Linked DNA regions of Homo sapiens: all the other regions are linked to region 6. Evidence: promoter capture Hi-C in 16 types of primary human blood cells and fetal thymus (Javierre and others, 2016). All regions are on one chromosome and are shown on one strand. Each heading gives the region's core, a stretch centred on a gene start or on the middle of the fragment in contact. The rest is flanking DNA. Distances are from core to core; before and after follow the strand shown. Region 1 overlaps DAP-DT (DAP divergent transcript). Region 2 overlaps MARCHF6 (membrane associated ring-CH-type finger 6). Region 3 overlaps MARCHF6 (membrane associated ring-CH-type finger 6). Region 4 overlaps MARCHF6 (membrane associated ring-CH-type finger 6). Region 5 overlaps ANKRD33B (ankyrin repeat domain 33B). Region 6 holds the start of FASTKD3 (FAST kinase domains 3). Region 7 overlaps DAP (death associated protein).

What was found. Contacts are between HindIII fragments. The CHiCAGO score rates a contact against its expected background, and 5 or more counts as called.
Region 1: a fragment that was not itself captured here is called in contact with the fragment with the promoter of FASTKD3 in region 6 in 3 of 17 cell types (activated CD4 T cells, total CD8 T cells and naive CD4 T cells); the score reaches 10.2 in activated CD4 T cells.
Region 2: a contact is called between a fragment that was not itself captured here and the fragment with the promoter of FASTKD3 in region 6, in 6 of 17 cell types (naive CD4 T cells, total B cells, naive CD8 T cells and 3 more). The highest score is 8.6, in naive CD4 T cells.
Region 3: a fragment that was not itself captured here is called in contact with the fragment with the promoter of FASTKD3 in region 6 in 1 of 17 cell types (total CD4 T cells); the score reaches 6.1 in total CD4 T cells.
Region 4: a fragment that was not itself captured here is called in contact with the fragment with the promoter of FASTKD3 in region 6 in 3 of 17 cell types (total CD4 T cells, total B cells and naive CD4 T cells); the score reaches 7.6 in total CD4 T cells.
Region 5: a contact is called between a fragment that was not itself captured here and the fragment with the promoter of FASTKD3 in region 6, in 2 of 17 cell types (total B cells and erythroblasts). The highest score is 6.4, in total B cells.
Region 7: a fragment that was not itself captured here is called in contact with the fragment with the promoter of FASTKD3 in region 6 in 2 of 17 cell types (activated CD4 T cells and total CD4 T cells); the score reaches 6.4 in activated CD4 T cells.

Annotation. Positions count from the first base shown.
Region 1 is chr5:10,766,739-10,769,824 of GRCh38, reverse strand. It overlaps DAP-DT (DAP divergent transcript), which reads right to left. Exons shown (of 3, transcript NR_187555.1): 2 at 2,050-2,201. Among named protein-coding and RNA genes, the nearest start is that of DAP, 7.0 kb to the right of the region's middle. The HindIII fragment of the contact is 2,650 bases long and covers 6-2,655 here.
Region 2 is chr5:10,378,420-10,381,481 of GRCh38, reverse strand. It overlaps MARCHF6 (membrane associated ring-CH-type finger 6), which reads right to left. Exons shown (of 26, transcript NM_005885.4): 3 at 2,650-2,723. Among named protein-coding and RNA genes, the nearest start is that of MIR10397, 22 kb to the left of the region's middle. The HindIII fragment of the contact is 714 bases long and covers 1,008-1,721 here.
Region 3 is chr5:10,426,091-10,429,272 of GRCh38, reverse strand. It overlaps MARCHF6 (membrane associated ring-CH-type finger 6), which reads right to left. Exons shown (of 26, transcript NM_005885.4): 24 at 2,751-2,883. Among named protein-coding and RNA genes, the nearest start is that of ROPN1L-AS1, 14 kb to the left of the region's middle. The HindIII fragment of the contact is 3,847 bases long and covers 1-3,182 here.
Region 4 is chr5:10,408,556-10,411,435 of GRCh38, reverse strand. It overlaps MARCHF6 (membrane associated ring-CH-type finger 6), which reads right to left. Exons shown (of 26, transcript NM_005885.4): 18 at 1,160-1,297; 19 at 1-103. Among named protein-coding and RNA genes, the nearest start is that of MIR10397, 7.6 kb to the right of the region's middle. The HindIII fragment of the contact is 1,081 bases long and covers 749-1,829 here.
Region 5 is chr5:10,605,505-10,608,298 of GRCh38, reverse strand. All of the region lies in intron 1 of ANKRD33B (ankyrin repeat domain 33B), which reads right to left. Among named protein-coding and RNA genes, the nearest start is that of ANKRD33B, 43 kb to the right of the region's middle. RefSeq lists an enhancer at 84-333 and a silencer at 1,004-1,053. The HindIII fragment of the contact is 2,123 bases long and covers 261-2,383 here.
Region 6 is chr5:7,867,327-7,870,280 of GRCh38, reverse strand. It overlaps FASTKD3 (FAST kinase domains 3), which reads left to right and starts at 1,250. Exons shown (of 7, transcript NM_024091.4): 1 at 1,250-1,302; 2 at 2,085-2,954. The coding sequence starts at 2,198. It overlaps MTRR (5-methyltetrahydrofolate-homocysteine methyltransferase reductase), which reads right to left and starts at 1,133. Exons shown (of 15, transcript NM_002454.3): 1 at 1,066-1,133. RefSeq lists silencers at 631-680, 741-790, 801-1,240. The HindIII fragment of the contact is 2,367 bases long and covers 314-2,680 here.
Region 7 is chr5:10,746,993-10,749,956 of GRCh38, reverse strand. DAP (death associated protein) reads left to right here. Exons shown (of 4, transcript NM_004394.3): 2 at 1,686-1,782. Among named protein-coding and RNA genes, the nearest start is that of DAP-DT, 13 kb to the left of the region's middle. The HindIII fragment of the contact is 7,852 bases long and covers 1-2,964 here.

The DNA.
Region 1 (3,086 bases), core at 81-2,580, 2.9 Mb before region 6:
AAGCTTGTGAATGGTGCCCCAGAGGGTCCCTCCAAACCTGAAGGATGGCTTTGGGATTTGTTCTTATCTGGATTAACAGCAATTGTACTTCCCAAGCTCGGACCTTTTCTAAAATTGAGCAAGAACAGAGCTGGCTTTTCTGCAAACACACTGAGGACTAGGATCCGACAGAAGTCATTATTTACAACCCTCTCTAGCCTGCAAAGTCACACACAGATACTTCACCCTGAATGGAATAATTAATCAATTATAGGAAATCATTTGTTGAGAAGAAAGATGGTCTAAAAAAAAAACCAAGTAATTTCAGCAGGAAAAAAAAAGCTCTAAATTTTTTTAAGGAAATTACTTGCCATCTCTAACCCTAGAATAGTGAGAGCAAATAAAGCTGAGATGGCAAGAGCCCAGAGGTATCTTCCAGACTCATGACCAGGCATAGGCTTGTTAATATAGACTCTTAGCAATTCTTGGGGAACTTCAAGGTTGTGATACAAAGAATTTAGCCCATGTTCATATTGAGTCCTATTATAGAGCTGAACTCACCAATAAATTAACTTAAATCTAATAAAATGGCCATACTTAAAAACGCTTTCTATCATGAGGTGATCAGGTTGACATCTTCAGTGATTAGTCATATTAATAACATTATGTTAATAATCACATTAACATAATGTGATAAAAAAAGGTCACTATGATCTTCCTTCCAAAAACCTGTAACTCCTGTTTTTAACTATGAGAAAAACATCAAACACAAATTAAGGGACAATTTACAAAATAAGATAGCTAAAAAGAATCCTTGTCTATTTTTGTCTGGAAGCCTGGAGGGACGTACAACAGAATGTTACAAGTGGTCAACTTTACCTGCTGGTAGGATTGTTGAGAAGTGGTGACTTGCTTTTTCCTTTGGACATTAATCTGTTATTTAGGTTTTCCAAAGTGTATTTTTTTGTATTTTTTAAAAAACTTATTCATAAAAATTAATTCTTTCTTGAATGTAGTCAAAACGTCCATATGGCCAGTAAGAGAAGATACAACATGCTCCTTTGGAGGAAAAAATAACCCAGGCCAACAGCCTCTTCTTTGAGACCTTCTTCACTTCAAAGCCTGTGAAAACAGCCCTTCTGAAAAATGGTGTCACTAATGCTATCAAAACTCTGAGATTGCCAAAACTACCTCTAGGAGGCACATAGTACAGCACGAGGGCTGTAAATGCTAAGACATAATATTGAATAACTATTTGAATCTTCAAGTAAGATAGGTATTATGGCCTCCAATATGGAAATGTAATTACAGAATGCATAAGTAGCTTGCACAAGGTCAAATAATGACTCAATGCAAGAGCTAGACATAAAATTTTCCTTACCACTTCCCATTTCTCTGCTAAAACACATTTTTTATAAATAACTTACAAAGCATTCGAAATTCCCTAGAAAATCAATATTCATGGTTGTGTTACTCTCAACTTTTTTGCAGTTTCTATTTTCTAACTTTTAAATAAAGATAAGAGGAATATTTTGCCAAGGTTCAGCCTGGTTATTTTTTTCTTCAAATACTGTTAACTAAAGTATAACCTCATATGTGACTAAAATGGACCTCCATGCTCTTTATTAGCTGTTGAATTACTTTTGAAAAATGCCTGAAACTGTCACTGAGTGATAAGTTGAGGCCCAGTGAAATCCCAAAGATCCCTCACTTGTGTGTGTGTGTGTGTGTGCACACGCACATGTGTGTATATGTGTGTGTAAAATATATTCTATCATTTTTATTTGATTTTGAGATATGTATATCCTCTTCAAGTGTTTTATGTGTATGTGTGTATGTCAAAAATTACATTAAAATTAATTTAAAGCCTACACTACATAGTATAATAAGAAATATCCTAGATGTTACAAAGCAAAGTCAAGAATGACTGACGCTCTCCCCTTATGAGCAAAATTAACAATGGAGGAGAAATCAGAGAAATCCTGGGTCATTGTCTTGGTCCATTTTATGCTACTATAACAGAATACCTGAGACTGTGTAATTTATAAAAAACAAATATTTATTTCTCACAGTTCTGGAGGCTGGGAAGTCCAAGGTCAAGGGCCCACATCTGGTGAAGGCCTTCTTGGTGTGTCATCCCATGGTGGAGGGTGGAAGGGCAAGAGAACACGTGAAAGAAGAGGAAGGAGGGCTGAATTCATCCTCTTATCGGGAGCCCACTCCTGTGATAACAGCATAAATCCATTCATGAGAACAGAGCCCTCATGAGCCAGTCACTTATTAAAGATCCCACTTCTCAACACCATTGCATTGGGGATTAAGTTTCCAACACATGAATTTTGGGAGACACATTCAAGCCATAGAAGTAGTAAATAAGAATACAAAATTCTCATCTATCAGACAACAGCACAAGAAGACAGGAAACAGAAACCAGCCTGGAATAAAGAAAGCAATATTCATCGAAGTGATTGTTATGTGGGATTATTTTAATACACACTGGGACTATTCGTATATTTCATGAATGCTGATAAAAAGAAACTCCCTTTGCAGTAATAACAGTACATTCTCTAGTATATTATGGCTTACAAAACACTTTTAAATTTACAATGGATAAGATAGCAAGAGCTGGGTTCTCTTGGGTCTCCCCACACTAGCTACCAATCCTTGCACCAAGCTTAGAAAATCCAGCTACAGATCCAATTTCTCCATCAAAAAAGGGCAGAGAACCCCCTGTGTCTCAGGATCCTGTAGGGGGTAAGTGGGGTGACACGGAGCTGTACGGGCATAATCATGTTTAGTCAAAGCCCTTAATTCTCACAACCTTCCTGGGAGAGGCATTAGTGTTCACATCTCTGACTTGCAGATGAGGACACTGAGACTCAGAAAGGTTTAGTGATGTAGCCACGGACACAAAATACACATCTGGAGAAGAGAATCTGCATTTTCCGTTTCTTCTTCAAATACTTTTTCCAGGGCTTACAGCATTCACACTAAGTGAATTTACCACCATTTGGGATTAGAAAACAGCCTATTTATGGGTGGATCATCTGAGCTCAAGAATTCAAGACCAGCCTGGGTAACATGGCAAATCCCCGCCGCTACCAGAA
Region 2 (3,062 bases), core at 115-2,614, 2.5 Mb before region 6:
ATAATCATCTGGTTTCCCAAACTATAAAAGATGTAATAAAGCAAACAGGAGCAAAAGATGAAGCTGACAACAAGCCATCAACACTCCCCCAAATATAAGCATTAAATAGCACTCAAAAAGCACAACAGTCCGCAGCAGATCATTTCATGTGGGAGCAAACATCCCACTGACATTTGTTAGCCACTTTCCCGATGTTAGCATAATACTTAAAATTTCAAATGATAAATTCAGATCTTCCCACTACTCTGAGAAATGTGGCTCAACACATTCAGAAAAAGAAAAGTTCTGCCACATTTAAAAAGGATTCCCTTTTAAAATGGTTCCAATAAAAAACCACTGCCTATTATCAAAAACCTCTACCACAGGTAGCTCGGAAAGAACATAAAGGAAAAACAAACAATTCTTTCTCCAGTAAGGCCAAAACAAGAAATTATGATATATCAGGGTTTAAAAGCAATGATCTAAAATTTATAAGAACACTATCACAAAACTGTTCACACCTATAAACATTGAGAAATAAACAACTGACAAATAGCACCTTTTTTTTTTTTTTTTGAGTCAGAGTCTCACTCTGTTGCCCAGGCTGGAGTGCGGTGGCATAATCTCAGCTCACTGCAAACTCCGCCTCCCAGGTTCAAGTGATTCTCCTGCCTCAGGCTCCCAAGTAGCTGGGATTACAGGCGTCTGCCACCACACCTGGCTGATTTTTGTATTTTCAGTAGAGACAGGGTTTCCACCATGTTGGCCAGGCTAGCCTCAAACTCCTGACCTCAGGTGGTCCGCCTGCCTCAGCCTTTCAAAGTGCTGGAATTACAGGGGTGAGCCACAGCACCTGGCCACAAATAGCAACTTTTAATGGCACATGCCCACAGATCATTGACTTCGATAGGATATCTGGTATACAAGAGCAAGTCATTAAAACCAGGAATAATAGAGATTTTTTGCAAAAGATAAAAGAAATAGAGAATGTAACTATCAAATGAAAATTAAAATGTACAAAACAAGCTTCTATTGGCCTCAAAGTAAAAGCCCACATATTTCCTATCAACTGAATTTCATGAAGATACTCAACTAGTTAGTCTTAGTTTCCTATGAATCTTGACAAGCTGTACAGCTTTTACGTACTACAGAAAATTAATGACTACAAAATAACAGAATTGACTTTTTTATGATGAATATACAGCTCCAAAAGTGAAAATGTAATAACTTTAATCATTTATACTCATCAAATAAAAACAAAGTAAAACACTAAGTTACAGCATTTATATCGAGAAGCTCAAGATGCTTAAACACACACACACACACACACACACACACACACACACAACTAAAACACAAAAATCCTTTGTAAGGGAAGGCAATATAGGGGATCCCAGAATGAAAAATTATGCTTCAAATATTTAATAACTTGCCAGCACAGTCCTCTACTTATTTGAGATAAAACATATTAAATATTAATAGGCACAGGAATCATAGTTAAAACCTTAAAGGCTGCAAAAATATTTTATAAAGGCTTATGAAATATTGACCTTAAAAGTTAGCCTCATGAAAAAAACGGTAATTTAAAACTTTGTTTGGCCAAGCAATGTGGCTCAAGCCTGTAATCCCAACACTTTGGGAAGCTGTGACAGGAGAATTGCTTGAGGCCAGGAGTTCAAGAACAACCTGGGCAATATAGTGAGACCCTCTCTCTATTTTTTATTATTTTTTTAAAAAAAGCTTGCTGGGCGCGGTGGCTCACGCCTGTAATCCTAGCACTTTGGGAGGCTGAGGCAGGCAGATCATGAGGTCAGGAGATCGAGACCATCCTGGCTAACATGGTGAAACCCCGTCTCTACTAAAAATACAAAAAAATTAGCCAGGTGTGGTGGTGGGCACCTGTAGTCCCAGCTACTCGGGAGGCTGAGGCAGGAGAATGGCGTGAACCCGGGAGGCGGAGCTTGCAGTGAGCTGAAATCACGCCATTGCCCTCCAGCCTGGGCAACAGAACAGAGCGAGATTCTGTCTCAAAAAAAAAAAAAGCTTTATCTTTATGACTATTATTCTAACCTATACAACTTTAACTCAAAATGTAGTCCAAATTTGAAGAGTACTGAATATTTGATGAAATCAAGGCATCATTGTTTATTTTTCTAGGTGGATAATGGTATTATAGTTACGTTTTTGAAAAAGAACCCTTACCTTTTAGAGATACATACTGAAGTATGTACAGATGAAATTACAAATGGTAGAATTATTTTTTAAATAATAGAGAAAAAAATAAAAGGATAAAGAGGCAGGGAACAAGAGTGTATGTAAAACAAGACAGGCTATGAGTTGACACTAAGTGATGGGTTCATGTGGACTTGTTAGATTTTTGCATGTGTTCGAACCTGTCTACAATTAAAAGTAAATAAATTTTAAAGACAAAAAAAAACACCCCACAAATCTCAAACATGTGTGTGATAAAAGACAGCATACAGTTTTTCAAAATATTTTCCTAAATATCAATACTTCCTATTACTATCAAAAAAAATCAAGCTGAAAATAATTGCTTTAAAGTGCTTAAGCACTTTTATCCCCCTTCCTCTGTCAACTGATCATATCAAACACCTTTATGCCACGAGTGATAACCAAAAAAAATGCAGTGAAAATGTCTAAAGAACTTACTTGGTGTAAAAGCAAATCTGTGCTTGCATAATTCACAGTATTCTTTTCGACTGTGTTTCAGCCATTGAACTAAGCTGTAATTATAAATAGATTCATAAGTACAGTGTTTACAGCAAAGAAACATTACAGTTTTGTCGAAAACATTGTTTTTATTAAAAATGTATATATCACAGAGCTTTTAGTTTCAAAATTTTCAAATTTAGAATATTCTTAACTTTTTGTAACTGCCTTCTAAGAATGAAAAACTACAACAGCTAGAGATAAAAACAACACATTTTTCTACCATTAAAAAAGGTTCAATTAATCAAAACTGTAATTTCCTCAAAGCAAAATGAACATGAAAGAATCTCTAAGCATCAACATCAGTTTTAATCCTGGTCTGATAATACTGGTACCTGGTAGCTAGGTCTGAA
Region 3 (3,182 bases), core at 158-2,657, 2.6 Mb before region 6:
TTTTAGAACACACATGTATTTATTTTTCTATATTTAACTCATGAGTTTTAATACTTCTTTGGCAGAGGGGACTGGGGGGCTTTAAAATCAGAGCAAGTACTTTCGAGGAATTCAGAAAATTAATACCGTCAGGTGGATTATTCCAAACACCACAATAGTGTGCTGTGCATAAGCTCTGGAGCTGAGTTTGAAATCTGAATGCTGCTCTTACTCCTTAAAAACCAGACTTTGGGGTAAGATTCTCAATCTCTATGAACCTCAATTTCCCATTTCTAAAACAGAGTTGACAAAACATATTAAAAAGCTACCCTAAGAATAACATGTAAGAATTACATAAAGCATCTAAACAGGGCAAAACAGGTACCAACATTTTTCATTTGCCACTCTTTTTCCCTTCCAAAGTCTTTCCAGAAATGCTCACAATAAAATTTTTAAAAATGAAAACATGAATGACTGGGTTGGAAATCCAAATTCTTAAGTCTATATACTATTAATGGGCAGAACATAATATATGCTAATTAGAATAAAAAAGAAAATAGGGCATTCCTACTCTAGACAAAACCAGTAAAGAGATTGTTCTAAAGAGTCAAAATAATTTAATTTTAAAGACGTATTCAACTAATAAGCAATGCGCTGGGTGTGGTAGCTCATGCCTGTAATCCCAGCACTCTGGGCGGCCGAGGGGGGTGGATTATCTGAGGTCAGAAGTTCAAGACCAGCCTGGCCAACATGGTGAAACCCTGTCTCTAACAAAAAGACAAAAATTAGCTGGGCATGGTGGCGCATGCCAGTAGTCCCAGCTACTCAAGAGGCTGAGGCAGGAAAATCGCTTGAACCCAGGAGGTGGAGGTTGCAGCGAGCCGAGACTGCACCACTGTACTCCAGCCTGGGCAAAAGAGCGAGACTCCGTCTCTCAAAAAAAAAAAAAAAAAAAAAAAAAACTAAAAAGCAATGGGCTTTGAAATATATTTTGCAGGAAATATATATTTGCATTTTAATATGGTATTTATGATACTTGGCATAGTCACAATTCAAACCAAATAAAAGCCTTGAAGTTTCTACTTAGAAGGAACCAGGAAATGATGCAGTTTGCACACTGTGGGCCCTCAGCTTAACTGTTCCCTGTTTCCCATGCCATCCTGCAGACTGAGGGATACATTGCTCAGCCTCTCTCTATACAAACCTGTGTTGAGCAATTTTTTTTTTTTGAGACAGGGTCTTGGCCTGTTGCCTGGGCTAGATTGGAGTGTCACAACCTGAGGTTAGCCCTGAACTCCTGGGTTCAAGCAATCCTCCTGCATCAGCCTGCAGGGCAGCTGAGATTACAGGTGTGCGCCACCACTCCCAGATAATTTATTTTTATTTTTTTTAGAGGTTGGGTCTCGCCATGTTGCTCAGACTGGTCTTCAATTCCTGGCTTCAAGCAACCTCCCACCTCAGCCTCCCAAGTAGCTACTGCACATGGCTAATATCTTTACTGTCTAAGAAGCAATGAGACTATTAGAAGTCAAACCAGTGGCAAAAGGTAAAGAAGGGCACACACACAAAGGGCTTCCAAAGGGCTGGAAAAGTTCTATTTCTTGACCTAGTAAGGTAACATACAAGTATACATGTTACACTGCAAGTTTGGTTGTGTGTTTTTTTTAAGCTCCTCTCTCACGGTTAAAGGGAGGACGGGGTCATTTCTGGCAGATGGATAAGACAAATGAAAATGTGGAGACAGTTATGGAGAGGACATTGTGTGTTTGATAAGAGGCCATTCCATGGTTGTTTAATCAAAACTCAGAGTATATGACATGGAGTGAGGTCAAACTGAAGCCCACATCAAAGCAAAAGGAGGAGCCTTGTAAACTATGCCAAAAGGTTGGACTGCATTAAAGGCCACAGAGGAACCAATGAAAAAAATGTTCACCAAAGAGGTACAATGAGATTCATTCTTTTGAAAGGTCATTGTGCCCAGTGTGGAGAAGGAATTAGTGATGGCAGGTTCAAGGCTGGGAAACCAGATAGGAAGGTGCCAAAGTTAGGGTAGGAGACGAATGACTCAACAAAAGTCAGGAGCAAAGGCTCCAGAGACGAGAGACCAGATTCTTCAGGGAAGAATGGGACACTTGGAGACCAGAGGGACATGGAGGACAGAATAAGGTGACATGGATAGCCTTCAAGGTTTCTGACTTATGCAATTTGTTGGATGATAATGTTTGCTGCTGAGAGACGGAATTCTGGAGAAGAAAAAGATTTGGGAAGGAAAAGTCTCTGCTTATAATTTTGAAAATATGTTGGGTTTAAGGAGCTATGAGGAGTCTTCACTACACAATCAACAAGACAGTGTATTTCAGTATAAACGTGTTGCCCATTAGCATCTCCTCTTTGGATCTTTTATGCCAAAGAATATTTCTTTAAAACTTAAATACAACAACACTGTTACTTAATTTTATATGATCACAGCACTTCTAGTCAGAAGAAGACAACCTGAAGGAAATCTGATCCTGCCTATTTTGTACAGCATGTAAATTTCAAGTTTTATCTTCTGGTAGAGAAAAGAACTGTATCAAAGAGCTTTATGATCCTCTAATCTTACCCAGAATAGTCAAATCTAAGAAAAGTGGTATTTTGAAATCATTGTCTTAGCTGGATTCACATTTACAAATAAAGCATATGGAGTGAGACATCCTTTTTACTAGGGGTAAAGAGAATGTCCAATGTTAATAAAAGTGCTCCTTCAAGGCTCCACAACCAGCATTACGTACCTAGTAAAGGAACAACACCAGAAGCTATGACATAAGGTACACACAGGGAAAGCAACAGCACAGAGATCACGGGAGCTGCCAGTTTACGAACAATATAGTGAAGGTCAATGTTCCGGATGCCATTTGCGTAAACCTGAAACATTACAAAAAGCAATTAGAACAAAGATACAAGACAAATTCCTCCAAGTTAATACAGCAATCTCCACACAACTGAATCTGCCAACCCAAAAATAGTCAAACTGGTTACTTCTTCTAAAGTCAAGGCAAATTCTGGTATATCAACATAAGCATAGTGCCCACGAGTTTCTGAAGAAATGTATTTACCCACTAACGCTCTGCAGTTAGCTCTGCTAAGTGATGAAATAAGACACTAATCTAGAATAATTTATACTCTACTTGCACTATACAATACCAGATGACATTCAGTGGTAT
Region 4 (2,880 bases), core at 40-2,539, 2.5 Mb before region 6:
AGGAATAGCGTTGTTATTTCGAGCATGCTGATTATTGTTAACTTGTTGATTTGCACTGTTTTCATTTTCTTCCTGGTCTCCCAATAAATAAGAATGAAGATCCCTGTGCAAAAATTACATCAGTAACAAGTCTCACTTCAGGTCACAATAAAATGGCAGACATGACACTCATTTTCTTCATATTTACTACTAAGGGTAGAAAATGTATAATACAGAATTTGTGCACCACATTATTACCTAATTTTGGTCTAAATGTTTGTACCCACTTTAAATCAAACCTTTCTAATGTTAATGAACTTGTAGGATATCCCATAAATTCAACCTATTTTACGTTTTCTTCAGCCAGTATCTGAGAAGAAATCAGTAACTGAAAGAAAAAAGTACAATGTACAAGATACTTACAAGTACACTTGTAAGTACAAGAGGTAAGTACTTACAAGCACAAGGTGTAAGTACATACTTACAATGTACAATATTGTTAAGGATCTACAGGAGGAAAAGAAAAACTTCTTATCTTCTCTACAGATGACTACTGCAACATGTAGCTACAAGCTATAAATTTGTAAAACCTCCAAGCTATAAATCAGTTAGGTCAGAAATGAGACTGGGGGAGGAAGCAGTTAGAGGACGACAGATGTTCAAGCAAATATAACCAAATCTGTACTTCACCTTTAAGATACCTACAAGATGCCAAACTGAAAAACTTTTAAAGATTCAACTTTTAAATAAATATAGAGTATATAAAGCTTGGGGAAAAAAATGCAACATGTTCACTAGAAGATTGAGAAATCAAATTTGAGAAGAACCCATTTCCCAGGTTATGAGCACTAAATAAAGGTAAGTTAGTTGGTCTAAATAAAGGTAAACTGGTTTGTTTTTAATGCACTAAAAAAAAAAAAGACATTTACTCCATGAAAGCTGGACCAGCAGCAAACTTCTATAAGAGGGCAAAAAGATGTATATATTCTCCATGAAAGGATGGACAATAAGAAAAAAAAATTTCATTTAGAAGTATTATATGCAATTGCAAATATTACTAAATTGTCTCTTATTAAAACTAATTTTTCTTGAGTGGGCCATGGAACATACTTTTTCCAGAAAGGTTATTCCATAGTCACAAATGACATGCATGTCCAAGGAGTCAGCTGCCCATACTCACAGCAAGTATCCGGCGGTCACAGTCCACGCTCGCACCAGCCCCTTCAGCCACTGCCTCGTGTGTCCCTGTTCGAGTAATGCTGGCAAGACAACCTGAAGCAGAAGCAGCTCGAGGGACAGTTCACTCACTGGAGCATCACTGAAAGAGGCAGGATTTATAATGTGAATTGTATTTTGCATATGACTACTATTTAATGGGATTACAACGCAACTTCTTAAGAATCTAATAAACTTACTGTCTTTATTACCTCTCCTTTCATTCTCTCTCCAACTCAGTGAGGCTTTCCCCACAAACTCCACCAAATTGTTTCTGATAAGGGTCACCAAAGACTTTCATTTTGCTAAACTGATGGGTAGGTCTTGGTTCTCTCCTCACTTGCTATATTAGTAGCATGTTACACAAAAGGTCACTCCTTCCTTTGACACCTCACATCCAAACAGCTAGAGAATCCTTTTGACTGTACCTTAACAATATCCTAAAAATTTCTCAAGGCCTCCACTGCTACCTCCCCTTCATCTCTGCCACCCTCACCTCTCACCAGGATCATTGCATTATCCTCCCAGCTGGCTTCCTGTTTCTGACCTAGCCACTCCAACCCAGTTTCCTCTCATCACAGCAGTCAGAATGATCCTCTTTAAACCTAAGTTAGATCACTCCTTTGCTCAAAGCTTTCCAAGAGCTCCTCAATTCACTCAAGCAAAAGCCAAAGTGCTTATGTCGTGTAAGACTCTCTAGGAGGTGGCTCTCCATGACCTTTCTGACTTCAGGGCCAATTCTTTGCCTTCCTCCTCCTACTACAGACAAACTTGCCTCCCTGCAGATCCTCAAACAGACCTGGGTGCCACTGCACCTACTTTCTGCAAGAATATTCTGCCTTCAGGGATCCACGTGGCTCACTCTCTCAACTCCTTCAGGGCTTTCCTCAACTGTCACCCCCTCAGGTCTTTACCAGTCACTATTCCTAAATTGTAACCCCATCCTGCCCACTTTCTATACCCTTACTGGCATTTTTTCTGCCACTTTAAATAATCAGGATATAAGTATTTTCCAATTCTAATTTAATAAAATACAAATTTGAGATTTTACTATGTGTAGAGTAAACCTTTTATTTTTGAACAATCATGTTCCTATGCAAAGCATTAAGATCCAAATAAGAGGCTGGGCGCAGTGGCTCACACCTATAATCCCAGCACTTTGGGCGACCAAAGTGGAAGGATTGCTTGAGGCCAGGAATTCAAGACCAGCCTGGGCAATATAGTCAGACCCTGTCTCCACAAAATATTTTTTTAAATTAAAAAAAGAGAGACAGAGAGAAAAAGACCTAAATAAGACATGATTTCTGCCATCTGGGATAAAACAATACATATTTGTAAAGTAATGTAACAAATGCTATAAAAAGAAATACAACGATGAAGACAATTTTAAAGGATGGAATGATGGCCAGGCACAGTGGCTCATGCCTGTAATCCTAACATTTTGGGAGGCTGAGGCAGGCAGATGGTTCAAGCTCAGGAATTCAAGACCAGCACAGGCAACATGGTAAAACCCGGTCTCCCCAAAAAATACAAAAATTAGGCAGGTGTGGTGGCTTGCGCCTGTAGTCTCAGCTACCCGGGACGCTGAAGTGGGAAGATCACTTGAGCCCAGGAGGTTGAGGCTGCAGTGAGCCATGATCATACCACTGCACTACAGCCTGGGTGACAGAGCGAGACTCTTTCTCA
Region 5 (2,794 bases), core at 73-2,572, 2.7 Mb before region 6:
GCAATGTCCGCCTCATGGGTTCAGGCGATTCTCCTGCCCCAGCCTCCTGAGTAGCTGAGACTACAGTCATGCACCACCACGCCCATTTTTTTTTTTTTTTTTGTATTTTTTTAGTGGAGACAGGGTTTCACCATGTTGATCAGGCTGGTCTCGAGCTCCTGACCTCAAGTGATCCACCCGCCTCAGCCTCCCAAAGTCCTAGGAATATAGGCGTGAGCCCCCGTACTCAGCCTGCTGTTGCTATTCTTGATTACCAAGCTTCGTTTTAAAAGTCAAATTCAGTTCTCAGTCCTTCTAGAAGGAGTGGTGATGAAGATTGTGCAAAACACCAGACCACAGGTCACGAGAGGACGCCTAAGACGACATGCTCAGGCTGCCAGGAATAGGCATTTGTGCTCCTCCTAGAGAGGGCTAAAGGAAACTGCTGCTAGGAGGCACTCAGTAACAAGGAGCTTTAAATAAGAAGATGAACTCACAGACAGTCCAGCAGGAAAACAAGCAGCTGGAAGCTCATCGTCCAGTGTGTTTCACTGTCCCAAGTAGACTTCAGTATTCCTCAAAAATGTCCCTGACAACACTCTCTATTCTCTTCCACTTATCATATACAGTAGCATGCACAGGAGGAAGATTCACTCAAGTATGGGCGACGGTCTGTGAAGAAGCTGGTGAAAGTACACACACAAAGTCTTTTTTAATTGTTTGAACCAGGACAATTCAGTTGCACTGGATTCAGCTGCAGTACTCACTGGCGTTATTCCGTTATCTATTTCTTCCTGCCTCTTGGTAAAATTGCATTTCCCCACCCTTTCTGAGTTCTGACTTGACCATCTGGTTTGCTTTGGGTAATTAAACGTAAGTGAAATAGCAGGTGTCACTTCCAGGAGGAAGTTTCGAGAGACGGTGGACGATGTGCCACCTTCCCTTTTCTTGACTTGACTGCCCTTGAAGCTCAGAGATGCAACTGCTCCCAGACTGGGCCTCCGGAGTGAGGGCAGAGAGAGCAGAGCCCTGCCCCCTCTAGCCGGCGCACAACAGCATGAATGAGCGAGAGGCAAACCTTTGTTATTTTAAGCCACTGGGACTTGAAGTGGTTTGTTATCACAGCATCACAGTCTATTCTGAGTGTGTGTGTGTGCGTGTAACAGTAGCATACATCATCTATTCATGTGTCAGGTTGCCTACTTTCTTTTTCCCTTGGGAAGAACTGTCCTTTATTTTAAGATTATGTCTTTGATACTTGATTGGGCACAAAATGTACTTATAAAATGGGCTGGGCGTGGTGGCTCATGCCTGTAACCCCAACACTTTGGGAGGCTGAGGTGGGTGGATCACTTGAGGTCAGGAGTTCAAGACCAGCCTGGCCAACATGGTGAAATCCTGTCTCTATTAAAAATACAAAAAAATGAGCCAGGTGTAGTAACGCACACCTGTAATCGCAACTACTCAGGAGGCTGAGGCAGGAGAATGGCATGAACCTGGGAGGCGGAGCTTGCAGCGAGCTGAGATTGCGCCACTGCCCTCTAACCTGGGCGACAGAGCAAGACTCCACCTCAAAAAAAAAAAAAAAAGACAGAGTCTTGCTCTGTCGCCAGGCTGGAGTGCAGTGGCACGATCTCAGGTCACTGCAACCTCCACCTCGTGGGTTCAAGTGATTCTCCTGCCTCAGCCTCCCGAGTAGCTGGGACTACAGGCACTCGCCAACACGCCCAGCTAATTTTTGTATTTTTAGTAGAGACAGGGCTTCACCATGTTGGCCAGGATGGTCTCGATCTCTTGACCTTGTGATCCGCCCACCTTGGCCTCCCAAAGTGCTGGGATTACAGGCGTGAGCTACTGTGCCAGGCCAATATTTGTATTTTTATCTATGCTTTTCTGCTTCAAATAAAGAGATGCCTAATAAACTGTTTTAAATAAAGAAATGACATTTTATTAATAAAATAAATAAATATGTAAAATACATCAAGATAATTCCTTCCAACATGGGGTCACCTTGTAGCCCTGTAATCAGGATTTGATAAATTCAAGGTTGTCAGTAATTCAAAACAATTTCCCTTTAGACTAAATTTTGCATAAAACGTAAATCTTATTATCACTGCAAACCTCTCGCTGGGATTTATGATTTTAGATTAGTAATGTATGAAACCACTACTTTGTTCAACTGTATTCCCTCTGCCAACTTCATGTATATACCTAATCTATTCCTATCTCAGAGGCTCATCTAATTTTCCCAACACTGGGAGTGGTTTCCACGCAGTGATCATACAAGCATTATGTGATGAAAGAAAACTAAGCCTGTTAACCGTTGACCTGAAGGCAGTGACTGTCAGTAACAATTACATGTTCTTCCAACCATTGATTCACTTAATCTTTCTGAAATTAAGCTTGGAATTTTTACAACAGATGTACAAAGCTCGACAGAGAACTTAAAGGAACTAGCAAGGCTAGAAGAGCGGAACACAGAAACTCACTCAGCCAGGCATGGTGGCTCATGCCTGTAATCCCAGCAGTTTGGGAGGTTGAGGCAGGCGGATCACCTGAGGTCAGATGTTCGAGACCAGCCTGGCCAACATGGTGAAACCCTGTCTCTACTAATCATACAAAAATTAGCTGGGCATGGTGGCGAGTGCCTGTAATCCCAGCTACTTGGGAGGCTGAGGCAAGAGAATCACTTGAACCCGGGAGGCGGAGGTTGCTGTGAGCTGAAATCTTGCCACTGCACTCCAGCCTGGGCAACAACAACAAAACTCCACCTCAAAAAAAAAAAGGAAGAAGAAAAGGAAAGAAAGAAACTCAA
Region 6 (2,954 bases), core at 1-2,500:
TTGGTTCTTATTTGATCCTAACGCTAAACAAACTAATCATAGTACTAAAGGTAACTGAAGCACATACTCTCCTTCATTATTTAATGCAAATCAAAAATATGTGAGTGTATGGGCATATATACAAACGGGTGCATATAACGAAAAAATATTTCCAATCCACTTAAACATTTTACTAACACGTTTTTCCGCAAGAGATAAGCAGTAGTAAAACAAACGACACTCACAGATTTTTTTCCATACTCATCTAACGGCTAAAATTGGTGGGCTGTCAATTTGCAGAGACAGATTTAAACTGAAACCCAAACCAAAAGCTTGGCTTTCGGTGAATGAACCGCCCAGAACGGCACCTGGCATGAAACTGGTACTCGATAAGTTATCTGAATGAGTGAATAAACAATATGAAAACACTACACATTGACAGCTCACAGAAAACGGTGGAAACGATAATGAAAACCTTACTACAGCTAAAATTTCTATCACTTCCCATGAAACACACATCCTGAGGGCTTCCCAGGATCAATCAACCCCTCATCCCTGCTACTGCCCCACAATCCGGCACCACCTTCCCACGACTCTCAGCGGAGGCCCGGGCCCCAGCAGCCCCGGAAGCGGCGCGGAGGCGGTGGGCAGAGCTCACGGCCGCGGGCAGAACTCACGGCCGCGTCCCGCCGGGTGGGCGCTCGGAACGTCCCGGGTTCCCCGGAGCGCGCCGCCCCAACCCGGCATGTTCCCCAGTTCCCCGCGTCCCCGAGTGCGGTTTCCCTAGGCCTGGAAAGCGCCTAGAACCAAAGGCAGAACATGAGGAGAGACCCCACGCCGCCCAGGGGCCTCCCGCGGCAGAGGCCGACGCCGAGCCCAAGGACACGCTCCCGGGGACACCAAAGCCAAAGGCCAAAGGCCAAGTCCGAGCCCCAGCCCGCGCCCGCGGCGACCCCCGGAGGCCGAAGGGCGTGGGAACCACGGGCGCAAGCCGGCTGCCCACCCCCGCCCCGGGCCGCCTCTCCCAGGAGATTAGTGCAGGGCGAGCGGCCGGAATCCGGGAACCGTAGCCGACAGGCAGCTTACCCACGCCGCGCCAGCCGGGCACGAACCTGCACAACGCGACTTCCACCAACCTTGCGCCAGCGCGCACTGACGCAGCGCCCATGCTCGGTACCCAGGACCAATAGAAAGCTCCGAAGGGGACCTGGGCCAATCACATTGCGCCGCCCTGAGTCGTGCTCCCGCCCCGCGTTTGCTACGGAGGCCCACGACGCCCAGGCGCTTCCGCGACCACCCGGAGTGATTGCCCGGCAGAGCGCGGTAGGTGTCAACGCGGGGTCTCCGCGCAGTTGGTCCGGCTGGGTGTCAAAGACCTGGCCGGCTTTCTCCTCAGGCTGCGCCGCCCGGCCCGTGTCTCAGCGCAGGTCCCCGGGGCGCCGAGTTTGGGGGTGCTCGCCCCGCGGGTCCCTTTCATTCCTAGGAAAACGCGCCGCGGGGCCTCCCGTCTGTCTGTCTTGCACACACGTGTTGCCAAATCCCCCCGCACCGTCTTTAGATCTGGACTGGCCGCCCCACCTTCTCCCTTCATTGATCTATGTTTTGCTTTTTCTTTTCCTACCTTGTTTCCATTGACAAAGTAGACCCTTTCCTTCAACACTAACCTTCTCCCGACACCGAGGGGAAACCAACAGCTTAGGGCCTTTCCAGCGCGTTTTTACCCTTGCCTTGCTCTAACCTCGCCTAATTTTGCCCACTTTACCTGTTCTTTGATTTCTATCCAAATGCAATTTCTTCCTTCAACCAACATTTAAGGGCCACCCTTAAGAGCTACATTGCCTGAGTTTGAACCCTAGCTCTGCCACTTAACCACCTGCATAAACTGGGCAAAGTAACTTTGTGCTTCAACTTCTTCCTCGTGTAAAATGATAGTAAAAGTACTGAATCTGTGTAAGTTAATAGAATACCTACAACAGTGTTTAGCAAGTAATAGCGATTGTTATTGTTCAATGTCAGCCACTCTTCTAACTCTAGGATGCAGAGACTTTGCCCCTCTGGTGTTTATATGTTAACCATCCTTTTTTTTTTTTTTTTTTTTTTTCCAGATACTCGTTTGTAGTTTCATAAACATTGATGTTGGGTCAATCATGTTCTCAATGTATTTAACCATGTGTTTTTAAATTTTTTAATTTAGTTATCAAATTGAGAATCTGATGGTATGGCATTAATCACCTTGAGGAAGAACCTTTATCGTTTATCTGATTTTCAGATGCATAGAGCTCTGGCTGCTTTAAAAAATAAACCTCTAAATCATGTTCACAAGGTAGTCAAGGAGCGTCTGTGCCCTTGGTTGTGTTCACGACAACCTGAGCCTTTCGGGGTCAAATTCCATCATGCCCATTGTAAAAAGTTTCATTCGAAAAATGGAAATGACCTTCATCCACTCGGTGGACCAGTGTTCTCTCAAGTATCTGACTGCGACAGGCTTGAACAAAATGTTAAAAATGAGGAGAGTCAGATGTTTTACAGGAGACTGAGCAACTTGACTTCATCAGAAGAAGTGCTAAGTTTTATAAGCACGATGGAAACCCTGCCTGACACTATGGCAGCAGGAGCTTTACAACGAATTTGTGAAGTGGAAAAAAAGGATGGTGATCAAGGGCTGCCAAAAGAAATACTGGAGAATAGCATCTTTCAAGCTTTATGCTTTCAGTTTGAAAAGGAGCCCTCACAGCTGTCAAACACTAGTTTAGTGACTGCTTTGCAAGCTCTGATTCTGTTGCATGTGGATCCTCAAAGTAGCCTGTTGCTGAACCTGGTGGCAGAATGCCAAAATCGTCTCAGAAAAGGTGGCATGGAAGTTCGCAATCTTTGTATTCTTGGGGAAAGTCTGATTACACTGCACAGTTCAGGTTGTGTGACACTAGAACTCATTATAAATCAACTTCAAGGTGAAAAATTGGAAACATTTACCC
Region 7 (2,964 bases), core at 80-2,579, 2.9 Mb before region 6:
AGGGAATCTTTGAGAATCTGAGACACTAGTCTGAGACCACATAGCTGAGGGCGTGGAGGAACGTGCCGACCCCAAACACATGCTGGTGGCTACCATGCGAGGCTGGCTTTTTGGATTTAGGGCCAGCCAGCATTTCCAAATTCTGTTCATGGAACACTGTAGCCCTGATGGAGGATAACTGGTATTATAGCCAAAAAAAAAAAAAAAAAAAAAGTTGTGTGGTCAGATAGGCTGGGGAGAGCTGGCAAGCTGTATGCCTCCTGTAAGTCTTCCTCATGCAGGTAGCACACTAAGGGCCAAGAAGGTCTCTCTTGGGGAAACCTATTTAATTTTGTTCAACCTGGCATTTCCCACTCTTAATAGATGCTAGATTACCCGACCCCTTACAACACAGTATTAACATATTAGCCATAAAGGAATTGCACATCAAACCACAATAAGAGACCACTTCACACCCACTAGGATGGCTATAATTAAAAAGACACACAATAGTAAGTGTCGGGAACATGTGGAGAATTGGAACCCACACACTGGTGGGAATGTGAAATAGTGTGGAGGCTTTGGAAGACAGCTTGGTGGTTTTCAGAAGGATAAATTCAGAGGCACCATGTGGCCTGGCAGTTCCATTTCTCGGTATATACTCAAGGAAATGAAAACATATGTCCATACAAAAACTTACGTGTAAGTTCTTCACAGCTGCATTGTTCATAATAGCCAAAAAAGTAGAAACAACGCAAATGTCTAATTGATGAGTGGAGAGATACAATGTGATACATCCATGCAATAGAATATTTGACAAGAAGAGGAATGAGATACTTACACGTGCTGTAACATGGATGAACCTTGAAAACACGCTAAGTGCAAGGAGCCAGTCACCAAAGGCCACATAGTTTATAATTCCACTTATATCACATGTCCGAAATAAGCAAGTCCAGGTGACTGGCTTCCAGGAGCTGGGAGGGGTGGAATGGAGGGTAACTGTTCATGGCTGTGGGGTTTCTGTTTGGGGTGATGAAAATCTCCTAAAATTGATTATGGCAATGGTTGTACAATTCTGAATGCACTCAAAACCATCGAATTATACAGTTTAAATGAATGAATTGTATTCTACATGAATTACATATCTATAAAGCTGTTTTTTAAAACTAAGTTAACATCTGCCAGCGGTAGGGTTTCACAGCACAGTTTGGGCAAAGCTGCAGTAGAAGTTTTGTTGCCACTTGCCTGGGCTCTGTGAAGGCACAGTAGCTGTCCCATGTCACCCATCACCATATCACCCCATCAAAAACATCTTCGATATTTGAGAAAGTAAATTTCACAGGGGAGGGTTGAGGTGAGCTCTTGTGTTGAGACTGTGGAGAACTGAAAGCAGCAGCCACTCTCTTTGTGTAGTTTGTGCCCTCGTTACACTGCTGCTCTGACAAAATACTTGAAAGGTGACCAGATAGAAAAACAAGAGCCTTGGAAAGTTTCTGAGTGGATCTGTAGTAAGAGATTATGTTGAGTGCTGTATCATTTTGAATTTACCCCGACAACCCTGACCTTCCCTAGTTAATCATTTTCATTGCCAGATTCTCCAGACTGACTTGTGGCCACTGAGCAACCAGAACCTTTCCAGCTGGTCCCCCTGATCCACAGGCAGCCCCATTTCCACATTAATCCCACACTCTCTGTTTTCATTTCAGTGAAAGCTGGTGGAATGCGAATTGTGCAGAAACACCCACATACAGGAGACACCAAAGAAGAGAAAGACAAGGATGACCAGGAATGGGAAAGCCCCAGGTGGGATGATGCTAGCGACTCTTGAGCATGTTTTCCAAAAACCCTATTCGGTTAAGCATTAACATTTGTTCTCTGTTCTATGATTCTGATAACTCCTGGGCTATGTGGGGCCCTGTTCTGTGTATTTTTCCCTTCCTAATCAGGGAGGAGGGGGCTTTGTTTTCAGTCAGGGGAGAAAATAGAGCCCCTAGAGGTCCTCTTTCCTGAGCAGTTGCCACGCGCCCACCCTGTTCCCCACCCCACACCCAGGGGCTGGTGCCCCGTCTGTCTGCACAGTTAGAGACCTACCTCCACCTGCCCAGGTGCCTGGGTTTAGCCAGTGTGCCTCCCTTCCTGGAAGCCAGGGCAAGCCAAGCCAAGCAGGAGCAGCTTCCTGTGGCTCATTGGTTTTCTGATGGTGGACACAGCTGCCAGCCACCCTCTTCCCAAGGCTGGACCACCAGAGTGGACGAAGTAGGCAAATTCTTGCACCTGTGAGTCTTTTGTACTCCAGGTTTCTGTTGTCATTCCAGAGAAACAAATACTAACAATTTCTGGGCAGTAGTTTGCAACTTAGGCTTCCATACTGAAATCACATGGAGACCCTTGAGAATTGCCGCACTAGTTGAACCTCAGGGGTGGACCTGGCTGTCTGTGTAGCTGGGGCAAGAACTTCTGATTTCAGAATGGTTGAAGCATTTCCTCCCTCGGATCATCAGCCAGATCTAGAATTACAAGGCCATGCCCTTATGAGTGACTGGGTGTCCTTATATGATACCTCTGCTGCCAACCCTCCTGGGGCCTGCACAGGGGTCTCCTTGCAGACCCCTCCTCCCCTGCTCAACACCTATTTTCCTTAAAGGTTCAGATTTCCAGTTGGGTTCAGGGACCTTGAAAGGAATCCATTTCTCTCGACTTTGCAATACGCAAACAGGCACCACTAACACACCTCTGCGGGAGCTCGTCCACGTAGAAGAAAGCACTAAGCTCTCTACTTATACAGCCTGTCTCCAGATGATGTCTCAGTCAGAAGAGGAGAGGGTGTGGAAGGGGAAAGAGGCTGTGGAAAGAAGCTAACCTTGATTCCTGTGGATTAGGCCCATGCTTTTATTTCATTTCATTCCAGCAGTCCTGAATAGTAGGTGGTATTCTCCCCAGTTTATGTACAAGGAAACAGAACCCCAAAGAGGATATCAGCTTGCC